Regions from separate parts of the Homo sapiens genome. Here all the other regions are linked to region 3. The links are contacts of gene promoters, found by promoter capture Hi-C in blood cells and fetal thymus (Javierre and others, 2016). All regions are on one chromosome and are shown on one strand. The core of a region is centred on a gene start or on the middle of the fragment in contact, and the rest is flanking DNA. Distances in the headings are between cores, read along the strand shown. Region 1 holds the start of GZMH (granzyme H). Region 2 holds the start of GZMB (granzyme B). Region 3 overlaps LOC101927045 (a long non-coding RNA gene).

The links. The method cuts DNA at HindIII sites, captures the fragments that hold promoters and counts their contacts. A CHiCAGO score of 5 or more calls a contact.
Region 1: the fragment with the promoter of GZMH here is called in contact with a fragment that was not itself captured in region 3 in 1 of 17 cell types (M2 macrophages); the score reaches 5.3 in M2 macrophages.
Region 2: the fragment with the promoter of GZMB here is called in contact with a fragment that was not itself captured in region 3 in 3 of 17 cell types (M0 macrophages, M1 macrophages and M2 macrophages); the score reaches 7.9 in M0 macrophages.

Annotation. Positions count from the first base shown.
Region 1 is chr14:24,606,943-24,611,180 of GRCh38, reverse strand. It overlaps GZMH (granzyme H), which reads left to right and starts at 1,496. Exons shown (of 5, transcript NM_033423.5): 1 at 1,496-1,622; 2 at 2,769-2,916; 3 at 3,434-3,569; 4 at 3,775-4,032. The coding sequence starts at 1,568. The HindIII fragment of the contact is 2,736 bases long and covers 1-2,608 here.
Region 2 is chr14:24,631,611-24,635,691 of GRCh38, reverse strand. It overlaps GZMB (granzyme B), which reads left to right and starts at 1,502. Exons shown (of 5, transcript NM_004131.6): 1 at 1,502-1,586; 2 at 2,630-2,777; 3 at 3,233-3,368; 4 at 3,574-3,834. The coding sequence starts at 1,532. GZMH-AS1 (GZMH and GMZB antisense RNA 1) reads right to left here and starts at 2,590. Exons shown (of 3, transcript XR_007064087.1): 1 at 2,344-2,590; 2 at 1-1,396. RefSeq lists an enhancer at 924-2,123. The HindIII fragment of the contact is 9,884 bases long and covers 1-4,081 here.
Region 3 is chr14:24,467,990-24,472,463 of GRCh38, reverse strand. All of the region lies in intron 2 of LOC101927045 (a long non-coding RNA gene), which reads right to left. Among named protein-coding and RNA genes, the nearest start is that of SDR39U1, 27 kb to the right of the region's middle. The HindIII fragment of the contact is 2,537 bases long and covers 865-3,401 here.

The sequences.
Region 1 (4,238 bases), core at 247-2,746, 140 kb before region 3:
CCTATCCCAGTTCTGTTAAAGTAATAGCAGGAATAGCACCTTATAAATACCTAGAAAAATAGTAGAAGGAAACATGCTTAAGCATTAATAATGATCTCCGGTGGTAGAATTTTTGGTAAGTTTAATTTTATCATTTACATGTTCCTACTTAACTATACATATATATTTATATATATTCATATACATAAATATACAAACATATGTATATATACACATTTTTGTTTATGGACAGCCTATGACTGTGAGCCAAGGGACATCAGAGACATGGCTCTCTGGAAACTGAGAGAATACTTAGTGGACAGTTTTTTGTTTGTTTGTTTGTTTGTTTTTGAGATGGAGTCTCGCTCTGTCACCCAGGCTGGAGTGCAGTGGCGCGATCTCAGCTCACTGCAAGCTCCACCTGGGTTGACGCCATTCTCCTGCCTCCGCCTCCCAAGTAGCTGGAACTACAGGAGCCCGCCACCACGCCCGGCTAATTTTTTGTATTTTTAGTAGAGATGGGGTTTCACCATGTTAACCAGGATGGTCTCGATCTCCTGACCTCGTGATCCACCCGTCTTGGCCTCCCAAAGTGCTAGGATTACAGGCATGAGCCACCGCGCCCGGCCTTAGTGAACAATTATTATCAGGATGATCAGCATCCATTTTTCCATCACCTGGCAACAACAACTAGCATTTCTCAAGGGAAATCCCCTCCTCATTCATAAGCACCATAGATGGAGTGGAACAGTCCCCACCTCAGCTTAAGGAGGGCTAAATAACCAAAGCATAAAGCAATCAGTCCACTACACTTCAGTGGACCCAATGATGACTCATTTTGGTTCAATAAATATCAAGTCCAGAACTTTTGTGCAGAACTGTGGAATAAAAAAAGTTATCTTTGTCACAGAATATTTATATTTAAAGAGGGGATTCTAAATATCCCAAAAATATGAATCTGAGATAGTGGTAAGATAGGAATGGGTTGCCATTTGCAGTATTTGTTGGGTGTGTGCAACTCTGCATACTGCTAAGGCAAGTCCAGCCTCCGTCTCACACCAACAGGCAGATTTCCCCACCACGGCCCTTACCATCTTGTGCTCTAACCCCAGATTTTCAGTCTACTCTTGCTAACCATCAATTCTTCAAGGGCAAGAGCCATGTCTCTCATATCCCTGGATCTGGCTTGCTAAATAATTATTCATGATTTTATCTGAGTAGAAAAAGAGCCAAGAACTGAGAAAAGGAGACATTCTTGGTTCTCAGTCACTGAGGAGCTTCTGCAGTACCAGCCTTTCTGCTAGCTGCAGCCACAGCTTCAACAGCTCCACCTCCTTGTTCTTTATTCTTGCTTTCACCTTGTTACTCAGCAGCAGGGGTGTAAATGTGACAGTGCCATGTCAACTTAAACCAAACCAGATAATTTTAATAAACCACCTTCTATAATGACACCCATCAAAACCAGAAGGGGACAAGTCTAGGAGGTCTCTGAGTTTACTGTACCCATCCCTCCTTCATCTCCCTCCAGCATTTGTTTCTGGAAGGAGTCAACACCAACAGCTCTGACCTGGGCAGCCTTCCTGAGAAAATGCAGCCATTCCTCCTCCTGTTGGCCTTTCTTCTGACCCCTGGGGCTGGGACAGGTAAGTGACTATCCCTATTCCAGAGGCCTGAACCCATCTTATAAGATACCCTGTACCCATGAGCACTGGTCAGGAATTTTCCTCAATCTGAGCCCACCTCCCATTCCACACCCAGACTTATAAATCTGAGGCTAGATAGACACTCAGCAAAGATCGAAAAATGAAGGGTGTTCCCTAAAAGGTTTAATGGGTGTTAGCCTCTCCCTAGACCTCTCCTTTATGACCTGGAGTGTGGATTGTTCTTAGAAAGGCATTTGGTAGGGAATGTGAAGCTAAAAAAGATAAGTAATTATTACTCTACACTCCAACCCAGGAAAGAGGAGCTCAGACACCAAGTTGCAGTCATAGGAGTTGTTACTGGACTCAGCTTAAGAACCACTTATTCAGTGCCCCCACCCAGTCACCCCTGCCAGGAGGGAAGCCCATGGTGCAACTGATCTCAGAGATGGCAAGATGACTGTGTCCATAGCTCTCCCATTACCTTGGCTCCACCTGGGCTTTGCGATTCATTTTTAGTTGATTTCTCCACTTCCTTCTGCCTTTGCAGGCCCTCAGCTACTCCACTGACCTGGTGATAACCCCCTCTAACATCCCTGAGGTCCTGAATCCCACCAGCACTACCCCCACTAAACCTCAGCCAAAGGCTAATTGGAGGCTATTCATTTATGCACCAAACAACACTTACTGAGAACCTAGAATGTGTTCAGCCCTGGCACATGAGAATTTTAGAAAATCCAACTCCAGAAGCTCATGGGTAGATCATTAGAAAATGGCACCAATCAGGAGGACAGCAGAGGCTCAGAGGAATCAGAGAGACTCACTAAAAAGGAGGAGCCTGGGAAGTCCTGTCCAGGATCCTCTGGGGCTCTACCACTGTGAAAATAGATCTTTCTTCCTCCATGTGTGTTTCTGCAGTAGGATGCAGAAGTCAAGCACTGTCCATTCTTTCTGAGAGAAGGTTCTGAGACTTAAAGTTCAGAAAAGCTTGCTCTGCCTGCAAGGAGTACTGCCTGCAGAGCTCAGGAGGACCCCTCCCTCACTGTCTGCAGCACACAAAACACTTCACCCTCAATCACTGTCGTCCTAAGCCTTCTCTCCTGACTGCAGCCATCCCCAGCTACTTTATCTTCCAGTCTTTCCTTTCAGAGGAGATCATCGGGGGCCATGAGGCCAAGCCCCACTCCCGCCCCTACATGGCCTTTGTTCAGTTTCTGCAAGAGAAGAGTCGGAAGAGGTGTGGCGGCATCCTAGTGAGAAAGGACTTTGTGCTGACAGCTGCTCACTGCCAGGGAAGGTAAGGAGCAGCACCAGCTCACCTCCTGAGTTCCCCCTACAGGGACCCTTGTTTTCTCCTGGGGACTGCAGCCCAGGGGAGCTTCCAGAGTTCCTGGTAACACAAGCCCATGAAAGCTCATCGGAGCAGCCACCTGGGAATAGGACTAAGATGATGAAAGGCTGAGAAATAGGACAGGGTCAGAGGGTCAGAGGGTCAGAGGTCAGAGCAAGTGGCATGGTTTCACACACTGGCCCAATAAGGCAGTAGTAAAGGTTGAATCCATGCATTAAGGATCAAAATGCAAACTCGAGCAATTTCATGATATTTCCTGAAGGCAAGAGAGAGCCCCCAGAAGCCCTACTCTTCATGTCTTTGTGAAGTAGAGGGCACAGTCACTCAGCCCTGGAGCCCTCCTGTCCCTTCAACTTCCCCTCAGCTGCAGCCCTACCCTGCCACAGCTGTCATCTGCTCTTCACTGCTCCTGGGCTCTATCCCCTGTGACTCCACCCCCATCCTCACTCTGCTCTCTGTGCAGCTCCATAAATGTCACCTTGGGGGCCCACAATATCAAGGAACAGGAGCGGACCCAGCAGTTTATCCCTGTGAAAAGACCCATCCCCCATCCAGCCTATAATCCTAAGAACTTCTCCAACGACATCATGCTACTGCAGGTGAGGCACACTCCTGCCACTCTTGCTCTTCTTGGTCCAGTTGGTTCCACTCCCACTGGGATGCCGGCCCTTTCCTCCTTTCCATCCTGACCTCTTGGTCAGTTCCTGTGCCTTAGAGGAGAGGGAAGATTGTGCAGCCCCATCACTGTGTCGGGGCCCAGAAGGCCATTGCCTGACCTGGACTTTCTTGCTTCTTCCCCACCAGCTGGAGAGAAAGGCCAAGTGGACCACAGCTGTGCGGCCTCTCAGGCTACCTAGCAGCAAGGCCCAGGTGAAGCCAGGGCAGCTGTGCAGTGTGGCTGGCTGGGGTTATGTCTCAATGAGCACTTTAGCAACCACACTGCAGGAAGTGTTGCTGACAGTGCAGAAGGACTGCCAGTGTGAACGTCTCTTCCATGGCAATTACAGCAGAGCCACTGAGATTTGTGTGGGGGATCCAAAGAAGACACAGACCGGTTTCAAGGTTGGGTTTCCAGCCTCTACCCAGAAAGACCACAGGGAGAGAGGAACTTGAGGGAGTTCTGGGGTATGACAGTGGCCAGATCTTTATGCTCTCAGCCCAGAGCTTGGGCAGCCTGTGTCCCCCTGGAATCTAGTCTTTAGTCCACTCCTTGGGTGGACTGGGGTGGCTGGAGGGGAAGGATCTGTCATCCGACAGTCACTTATCAC
Region 2 (4,081 bases), core at 253-2,752, 160 kb before region 3:
CTATAGTTGTATTGACTAAGATTTCTACGAGCATGGGGAAAATGCTTAATTTGTAGGGTTAATCAAGGATAAAATAAATTGCATTGTATGTACAATGTGATCCCAAGTATTTAAAACACACTGCTTATGGTAACAGTCAGTCTGTGGGAGACAGGTTAAAAAGTGATATTTTCCCTTCCTACTTTCCAAATTTTCTTAACAAACATATATTATGACTATAATCAGAAAAAATTATTTTTAAAACGTCTACTATGGGGCAAGCTAGGTTCAAAAAATAGAAGTTTGATAAATGTAGTTGGCTTGCTATTGACAAGGAAGACGTTTACACTGGAATTCTATATTTTGAGATATACCATTCCTCATAGAAAAATTTCCTCACAGAAAATATAAAGGTGGAAACAAATCACAAGAATCGAACCATGTAGAGAGACTTAGTTGTCTTTTAACAGAATTGGGCACGGGCTGTTCAGAAACAACAATCTTTCACATCCATTATAATGATAGCATTAGTGTAGTTTGTTTAGCAAATGTTTACTGTGAGCCTGTTATGTGCTGAGCCTGCTATGTAAGAAGTGTGGCTCTCTGGACAGGAGACAGAATACTAAACAACACAACTACTGATCTTTGGCTGCCTGGCATGCTTCCTCACTTCATATGGTATCAGCAATTTAGCACCACAAACGTCCTTTAGAGAACCAGCCCTTTCTCATTCTTGGTTCTAGTGGCTTGAGTAGACTGACCCCAGCCTACCCAAAGTGGATTTGACTCCTAGCAATTCATTAATCTAGCCCAATAAAATGTCAAGTACAGGACTTTTATTGAAAGCATTCAGAAAAGAGGTGGACTCTCACACTAAACATTTGTAACTAAATAAGGGATGTTAGAAATTCTCTAGAAAGGAAGCTATGATAATAAATGGGTTGCTAGATGGGTCTAGTAGATGGTGGCCATGCTTTGTTACTGCCTTGTGTATTGTGCTACCATAGCCCTCCCCAAACTGTACTCTGGCTCCTGGCATTTCCGTCTCTTCAACCAGATGGTCAGCTCTCTAAGTGAAGGAGACACATCTCCAACATGCTTGGTTCTAGCACAACAGAAGGGCTCAAACACATACCTGCTAAAGAAACTATCCTGATGGATTTAGCAGCATGGCCATGAGGCATTGGCGGTTCTATCACTGGGAACTCAGGTTTCTGGTGCTCCAGTACCTCTACTGGCTGATACCACATCCTACAATTCACTTCATAGGCTTGGGTTCCTGCTCTGGGCTGAATAGGTGGTCCACTCTGAGTCATCAGCTGTGGGTGATGATGTGGTCACTGCATGATTCTCACACAAGCACCCAGAGGACGTCATCAGGCAGAGGCAGTGGGGGTGGGCAGCATTTACAGAAAATCTGTGATGAGACACCACAAAACCAGAGGGGAACATGAAGTCACTGAGCCTGCTCCACCTCTTTCCTCTCCCAAGAGCTAAAAGAGAGCAAGGAGGAAACAACAGCAGCTCCAACCAGGGCAGCCTTCCTGAGAAGATGCAACCAATCCTGCTTCTGCTGGCCTTCCTCCTGCTGCCCAGGGCAGATGCAGGTGAGTGACCGTCTCCACCCTCGGGGGCCCAACCCCATCCCACAGGTCTCCTGCCCTTTCTCCACATTCCTGATCCATCTATCTACCAGGAATGTTCTGAACTCCAGCTCCCATTCTACCAAGACCCCCCAAGTGTGATGCTGGATAAGCTATCAGCAGGAATGGCAGAGCAGCAGGCCATTCTCAAGAAGAGCCAGTGGGTACTATCCCTTCCCCAGAGCCCACCTTTGTCACCTGGAGAGTAGGACTTTCCTAGAAGTAAATGGCAGAGGATGGGAAACTAGAAAAGAGAAATATTAAATTATTCTAGAGTAGGCCTGGCTTCTGTTTCTGGGATAAGACAGGTGCTTCTCTCACTGTCTACTTAGGAGAGAAACCCAGAGCTCAGCTGACAGCAGAATTGGTACAATCACTGTCCTCAGAACACTGTTAATGTGTTTGCTCAGTCCCATTCTCCAACTCTGCTTTTCTTCCCTGGCCTTTGGTGGCTCCCCTCTTTCCAAGGATGAGGCACTACGGCAGGCCCCAGCTTCCCTGCTTTCTAGAATTCCACCAGCACTGCTCTACCAGCCCTCATCCAGAGGCTAACTGGAGCCAGTCCATCATGCAGCCATGAACATTTACTGGGCACCCACTACATGTCAGGCTCTAGGAAACAGGATATGACAGTATCTAGATCCCTCCACTTACACCCTGGCCATTAGAAAGCAGCACTATCCTAGACACCACAGGACTCATAAGGGTCTTGGAAACTCACCTGAAACAAAGCAAAGTCAGGAGAGGAATGATCAGGAGCCTCTGGGATTTCACTGTCCCTAAGACAGGTATGCTCGCCTTCAACTACATATGGAAGAAAGATTTACAGACCAAAGTCTGCTGTTCTTCCCTTTTTCAGAGCAGGAAATTGAAGCCCCTTCCTCCAGGCCACTCCCAACTCCAGGCTATCCCAGGCTCCCAAATGCCCAGGAGTTCTGGAGCCACTAAGCAGGTGCCCACCCAGCAGATTCCATGGGTGCCCACAAGCAGACAGACTTTTCCTTCAGGGGAGATCATCGGGGGACATGAGGCCAAGCCCCACTCCCGCCCCTACATGGCTTATCTTATGATCTGGGATCAGAAGTCTCTGAAGAGGTGCGGTGGCTTCCTGATACGAGACGACTTCGTGCTGACAGCTGCTCACTGTTGGGGAAGGTGAGGAGCAGAAAACAGCCCACACCCTCCTGGAAACACTCCACAGAGACCCCTGCCTTCTTCCCAAGGAGCTCCCTGGGCTCCTGTGAACACACATGCCAGGAGGTCTCCTTAGAGGGTGAGAAAAGGGCAGTTAAGTTTGTGGAGAGAGGGGAAGGTTGGTTCCAGAGGTGCTGCTGAAGTAAGAAACAGCAGAGTGACCAAGCCTGCCATATTTAGAACTGGGGGCATACTTTGGCATAGAATACAAACTGAAGCAATTCCACCTGTGTTTCTAGGGGGAACCGAACCCTGAGAAACCTGGTGCAATTACCAGAATTCCAATTCCTGGGGACCGACTGTCCCCTTAATTTCCCCTCAGCTGCAGCCCTGCCCCAGCTGTCACCTGCTCTTCACTGTCTCTGGGCTGTATACCCTGTGACTCCACCCCCATCCTCACTCTGCTCTCTGTGCAGCTCCATAAATGTCACCTTGGGGGCCCACAATATCAAAGAACAGGAGCCGACCCAGCAGTTTATCCCTGTGAAAAGACCCATCCCCCATCCAGCCTATAATCCTAAGAACTTCTCCAACGACATCATGCTACTGCAGGTGAGGCACACTCCTGCCACTCTTGCTCTTCTTGGTCCAGTTGGTTCCACTCCCCCTGGAATGCCGGCCCTTCCCTCCTTTCCATCCTGGCCTCTTGGTTAGTTCCTATGCCTCAGAGGAGAGGGAAGATTGTGCAGCCCCATCACTGTGTCGGGGCCCAGAAGTTCGTTGGCTGACCTGGACTTTCTTGCCTCTTCCCCACCAGCTGGAGAGAAAGGCCAAGCGGACCAGAGCTGTGCAGCCCCTCAGGCTACCTAGCAACAAGGCCCAGGTGAAGCCAGGGCAGACATGCAGTGTGGCCGGCTGGGGGCAGACGGCCCCCCTGGGAAAACACTCACACACACTACAAGAGGTGAAGATGACAGTGCAGGAAGATCGAAAGTGCGAATCTGACTTACGCCATTATTACGACAGTACCATTGAGTTGTGCGTGGGGGACCCAGAGATTAAAAAGACTTCCTTTAAGGTAAGACTATGCACCTGCCTGGATTGGCTCTTGGGAGAAAGATGTTTGGGGAATATCTGAGACCTGGAGACTCAAGTAGTGGGGGACTCCTTCACCCACTAGACTGTGATATTTCTCTCTGGAAAGAGAAGAGGGGACTAGACTGAGCTGGGGAGAAATTAGGGCCTCTGCAAACTTACCAGGAGGCTTATGGTGGATGGTGCTTCTTTGGAAGGATGAATTTGCAACACTCCACCCACTCCAGGTC
Region 3 (4,474 bases), core at 884-3,383:
TAAGGCAAATGTGTTCTTTTAGTTCCCGTCAGGAGGAAGGATCAGAACAGTTTGCATTCACCCAGTATGGAAAGCAGTCTCATCTCAGCACTATATTAAACCTCCGGTTCTCTCTCAACACAGTCCAAAGAGACCTTTGCATCTGGACATTTCACAGATCATCAGATGGATCCGCTATATTGACGACATGGACTACAAAGAGGCACAGTGCCCGGCAGGCCTCTTTGGATTTTGCACATAGCATATAACACTCTTGGGAATACTGCTCCAGCCCATTTAATGGGTTTTCTCAGAAGGCTGCTGTCAGCTTTTCAGAGGATCTCCCAAAACAAGAGAGTCCTGCGGCATGTTCATCCTGCTGTATGAGCAGCCCTGGCCCGTAATCATATGACCCAGCAGATTCCATGGGTGCTAAAGGTAGCCATGACAGATAAGGGTGGGCACCTCTGAAATGACTGACAAGCCCTCATAAGTGAATTATAGCACAGACCTCTAGGGTTCCATAGTAAGGTTATGCCATATGTAGCAGAGAACTATTTACCATATGAAAAGTAGTTCCCAGGGTGCTACTGGGCCCTAGCAGACACTGAATATCTGACCATGGGACATAAGGGTGACTGTGTGATCACAGCTGTCCATCATGAGCTGAATCATATCAGAACCACCAAGTCATAGTATAAGGCAAGCACTCCTAGGGACCAACGTGGTAAATTTGGCTTTTCTGTCCCTACAATTTTAGGTCCCACTTAATAAAGGTCCTCATTTCCAAGCACAGAGTGGGGGATTTGCTTTCACCAGGGCCAGGGATACAATAAGGGTTTCACTAAAAAATAAAGTTACGGCTGCCAACTGTCATGTCAAGCTTCTTTTGACAGTAGATCTCTAGGCAACAGTGAAGTTACTAAATGACCCTGGTTATCATGAAGAGATCAAGTTGTTGCCACAAAACAATGTAATTGTGGCCCAGAAAGCAGTACAAGACACTTCTTGATGCTTCTACCCAGTGATAACTATAACACACAATTGCAGAAATCCTGCCTTAACAATGGCACGGTAACCTTAGAGATAAAGATCCGATTTGCCTTATTGAATAAACAACCTAAACCATCAGAAGTGCTTGCCAGGGAGTTAGGGTAGGGAATGCAGAAAAGGTGCTAAAGGAAGATAATGACTGTTAATAATGACCTCAGGACTCACTGTAAAAGTATGGACTGTAGCGAATGGAAGAAAATTTTTGCAGTCTACCCATCTGACAAAGAGCTAATATCCAGAATCTACAAAGAACTTAAACAAATTTACAAGAAAAAAACAACCCCATCAAAAAGTGGGCAAAGGATATGAACAGACACTTCTCAAAAGAAGACATTTATGCAGCCAACAGACACATGAAAAAACGCTCATCATCACTGGTCATCAGAAAAATGCAAATCAAAACCACAATGAGATACCATCTCACACCAGTTAGAAAGGCGATCATTAAAAAGTCAGGAAACAACAGATGCTGGAGAGGATGTGGAGAAATAGGAACGCTTTTACACTCTTGGTGGGAGTGGAAACTAGTTCAACCATTGTGGAAGGGAGTGTGGTGATTCCTCATGGATCTAGAACTAGAAATACCATTTGACCCAGCCATCCCATTACTGGGTATATACCCAAAGGATTATAAATCATGCTAGTATAAAGACACATGCACACTTATGTTTATTTCAGCACTATTCACAATAGCAAACACTTGGAACAAACCCAAATGTCAATCAATGATAGACTGGATTAAGAAAATGTGGCACATATACATCATGGAATACTATACAGTCATAAAAAAGGATGAGTCCATGTTCTTTGTAGGGACATGGATGAAGCTGGAAACCATCATTCTGAGCAAACTATCACAAGGACAGAAAACCAAACACTGCATATTCTCACTCATAGGTGGGAATCGAACAATGAGAACACTTGGACACAGGGTGGGGAACATCACACACAGGGGCCTGTCGTGGGGTGGGGGGCAGGGGGAGGGATAGCATTAGGAGAAATACCTAATATAAGTGACGAGTTAATGGGTGCAGCAAATCAACGTAGCACATGTATATCTATGTAACAAACCTGCACATTGTGCACATGTACCCTAGAACTTAATGTATAATAAAAATAAAATAAAATTATGAAAAAAAGTATGGACTGTAGCTTGTCCCTATAAAAATATTTTTTAAGATGCTATTAATATTTGTATGACATTTTCATTTTTAAATTTTGTTATTGATATATAATTGTACATATTTATGGAGTACATACATGGTGATGTTTTGATACATATAATGTATAGTGGTCAGGTCAGGGTAATTAGCATATCCATCATCTAAAACATCATTTCTTCGTGTTGAGGACAGTCAATATCCTCCTTCTAGCTATTTGAAACTATATATTATTGTTAACTATAGTTATCCTATGGTGCTATAGAACCCTAGAACTCATTCTTGCTATCTAGCTCTAATTTTGTATCCTTTAACAAATCTCCTCCTCTCCCCACCCCCTTCTCTAGTATCTAGTACCCTCTTGTTCTACTTTTTACTTCTATGAGATCAACTTTTCTTTAGCTTCCCAAATGAGTGAGAACATGTGGTGTTTAACTTTCTGTTCCTGGCTTATTTCACTTAACATAATGTCCTCTAGTTCTATCCATGCCATTGCAAATGAAAGGATTTCATTCTTTGTTATGGCTGAATGTGGCTTGATGAATTTATTCCATTGTGTACATATACCACATTTTCTTTATCCATTCATCTGTTGTTGGACACCTAGGTTGATTATATATCTTGGCTTATTGTGAATAGTGCTGAAATAAACTTAGGGATGCACATGTTTCTTCAATATACTGATTTCCTTTCCTTTGGATAAATGCCCAGTAGTGGGATTGTTAGATCATGTGGTAGTTCTGTTTGTAGTTTCTTGAGGAACCTCCATACTTTTCTCCATAGTGGCTGTACTAGTTCACATTCCCACCAACAGTATATAAGAGTTCCCTTTACTCCACATCCTCGCCAGCATTTGTTATTTTTTGTCTTTTTGGTAATAGCCACTCTAACTGCAGTGAGATGATACCTCATTGTGGTTTTGATTTACCTTTCCCTGGTGATTAGCAATGTTGAGTATCTTTTAAATATTTGTTGACCATTTGTTTGTCTTCTTTTCAGAACTGTCTGTGTTTGGATCGTTTGCCCATGTTTTAATCATTTTGGGGTGGGTTTTTTTATGCTATTGAGATTTTTAGTTCCTTGTATATTCTGGATATTAATCTTCTGTCAGATGAATTGTTTACAAAAATTTCCCCCCATACTGTAGGTTGTATTTTTACTCTGTTGTCTTTTCCTTTTGTGTAGGGTTTCCTTTGCTGTATAGAAGCTTTTTAGTTTGATATAATCCCACTTGTTTATTTTGCTTTTGTTGCCTGTGCTTTTGAGGTCTTATTCATAAAATCTTTTCACAGAGCAATGTCCTGAAGTGTTTCCACTATGTTTTCTTCTAGTAGTTTTGTAGTTTCATGTCTTATATTTAGATCTTTGATCCACTGTGAGTTGATTTTCATATAGGGTGAGAGGTGGGAGTCTAGTTTCATTCTTCTGCATATGGATATCAAGTTTTTCCAGCACCATTTATTGAAGAGGCTGTCCTTTCACTAATGAGAGTTCTTGGTGCCTTTGTCAAAAAGTAGTTGGCTGTAGTTACGTGGATTAATTTCTTGGCTCTCATTTCTGTTCCATCAGTCTATGTGTCTATTGTTTATGCTAGTACCATGCTATTTTGGTTGCTTCAACTTTGCAGTATATTTTGAAGTCTAGTAGTGTGAAGCCTCCAGCTTTGTGCTTTTTGTTCAAGATTACTTTGGCTATTTGAGGTCTTTTGTGGTTGCATAAAAATTTTAGGATTTTTTTCTATTTCTGTGAAAAATGTCACTGGTATTTCTATAGGGATTGCAATGAATCTGTGTGATTAACATTTAAATCAGTAGACTTTAAGTAAAGCAAATTATCCTCCATAACATAGGTGGGCCTTATCCCATAAGTTGAGGACCTGAAAAGCAAAGACTGAGGTTCCCCAAAGTAGAAAGAATTCTCCTCAAGACAGCAACATAGAAATACTGCCTGAGTTTCCAGCCTGCTGCCCTGAGGAATTCAGATTCAAGACTCCAGCATCAACTCTTGAACTCTTATCTGAATTTCCAGCCTGCTGGCTTGCCCTACAGATTTCAGACTTGCTAGCTTCCACAGCTTGAGCCAATTCTTTAATCTCTCTCTCCTCTCTCCTCTCTCCTCTCTCTCTCTCTGTCTCTCTCTCTCTCTCTCTGTGTATTACAAATAATATCTATCCTATTGGGTCAGTTTCTCTAGAGAACCCTGAGTAATACACTTCCCTTTATAAGACCGTTTTATTATAAATTGAAATGGCTACCCCCTTGAACAATCAGTGACAAGATGAA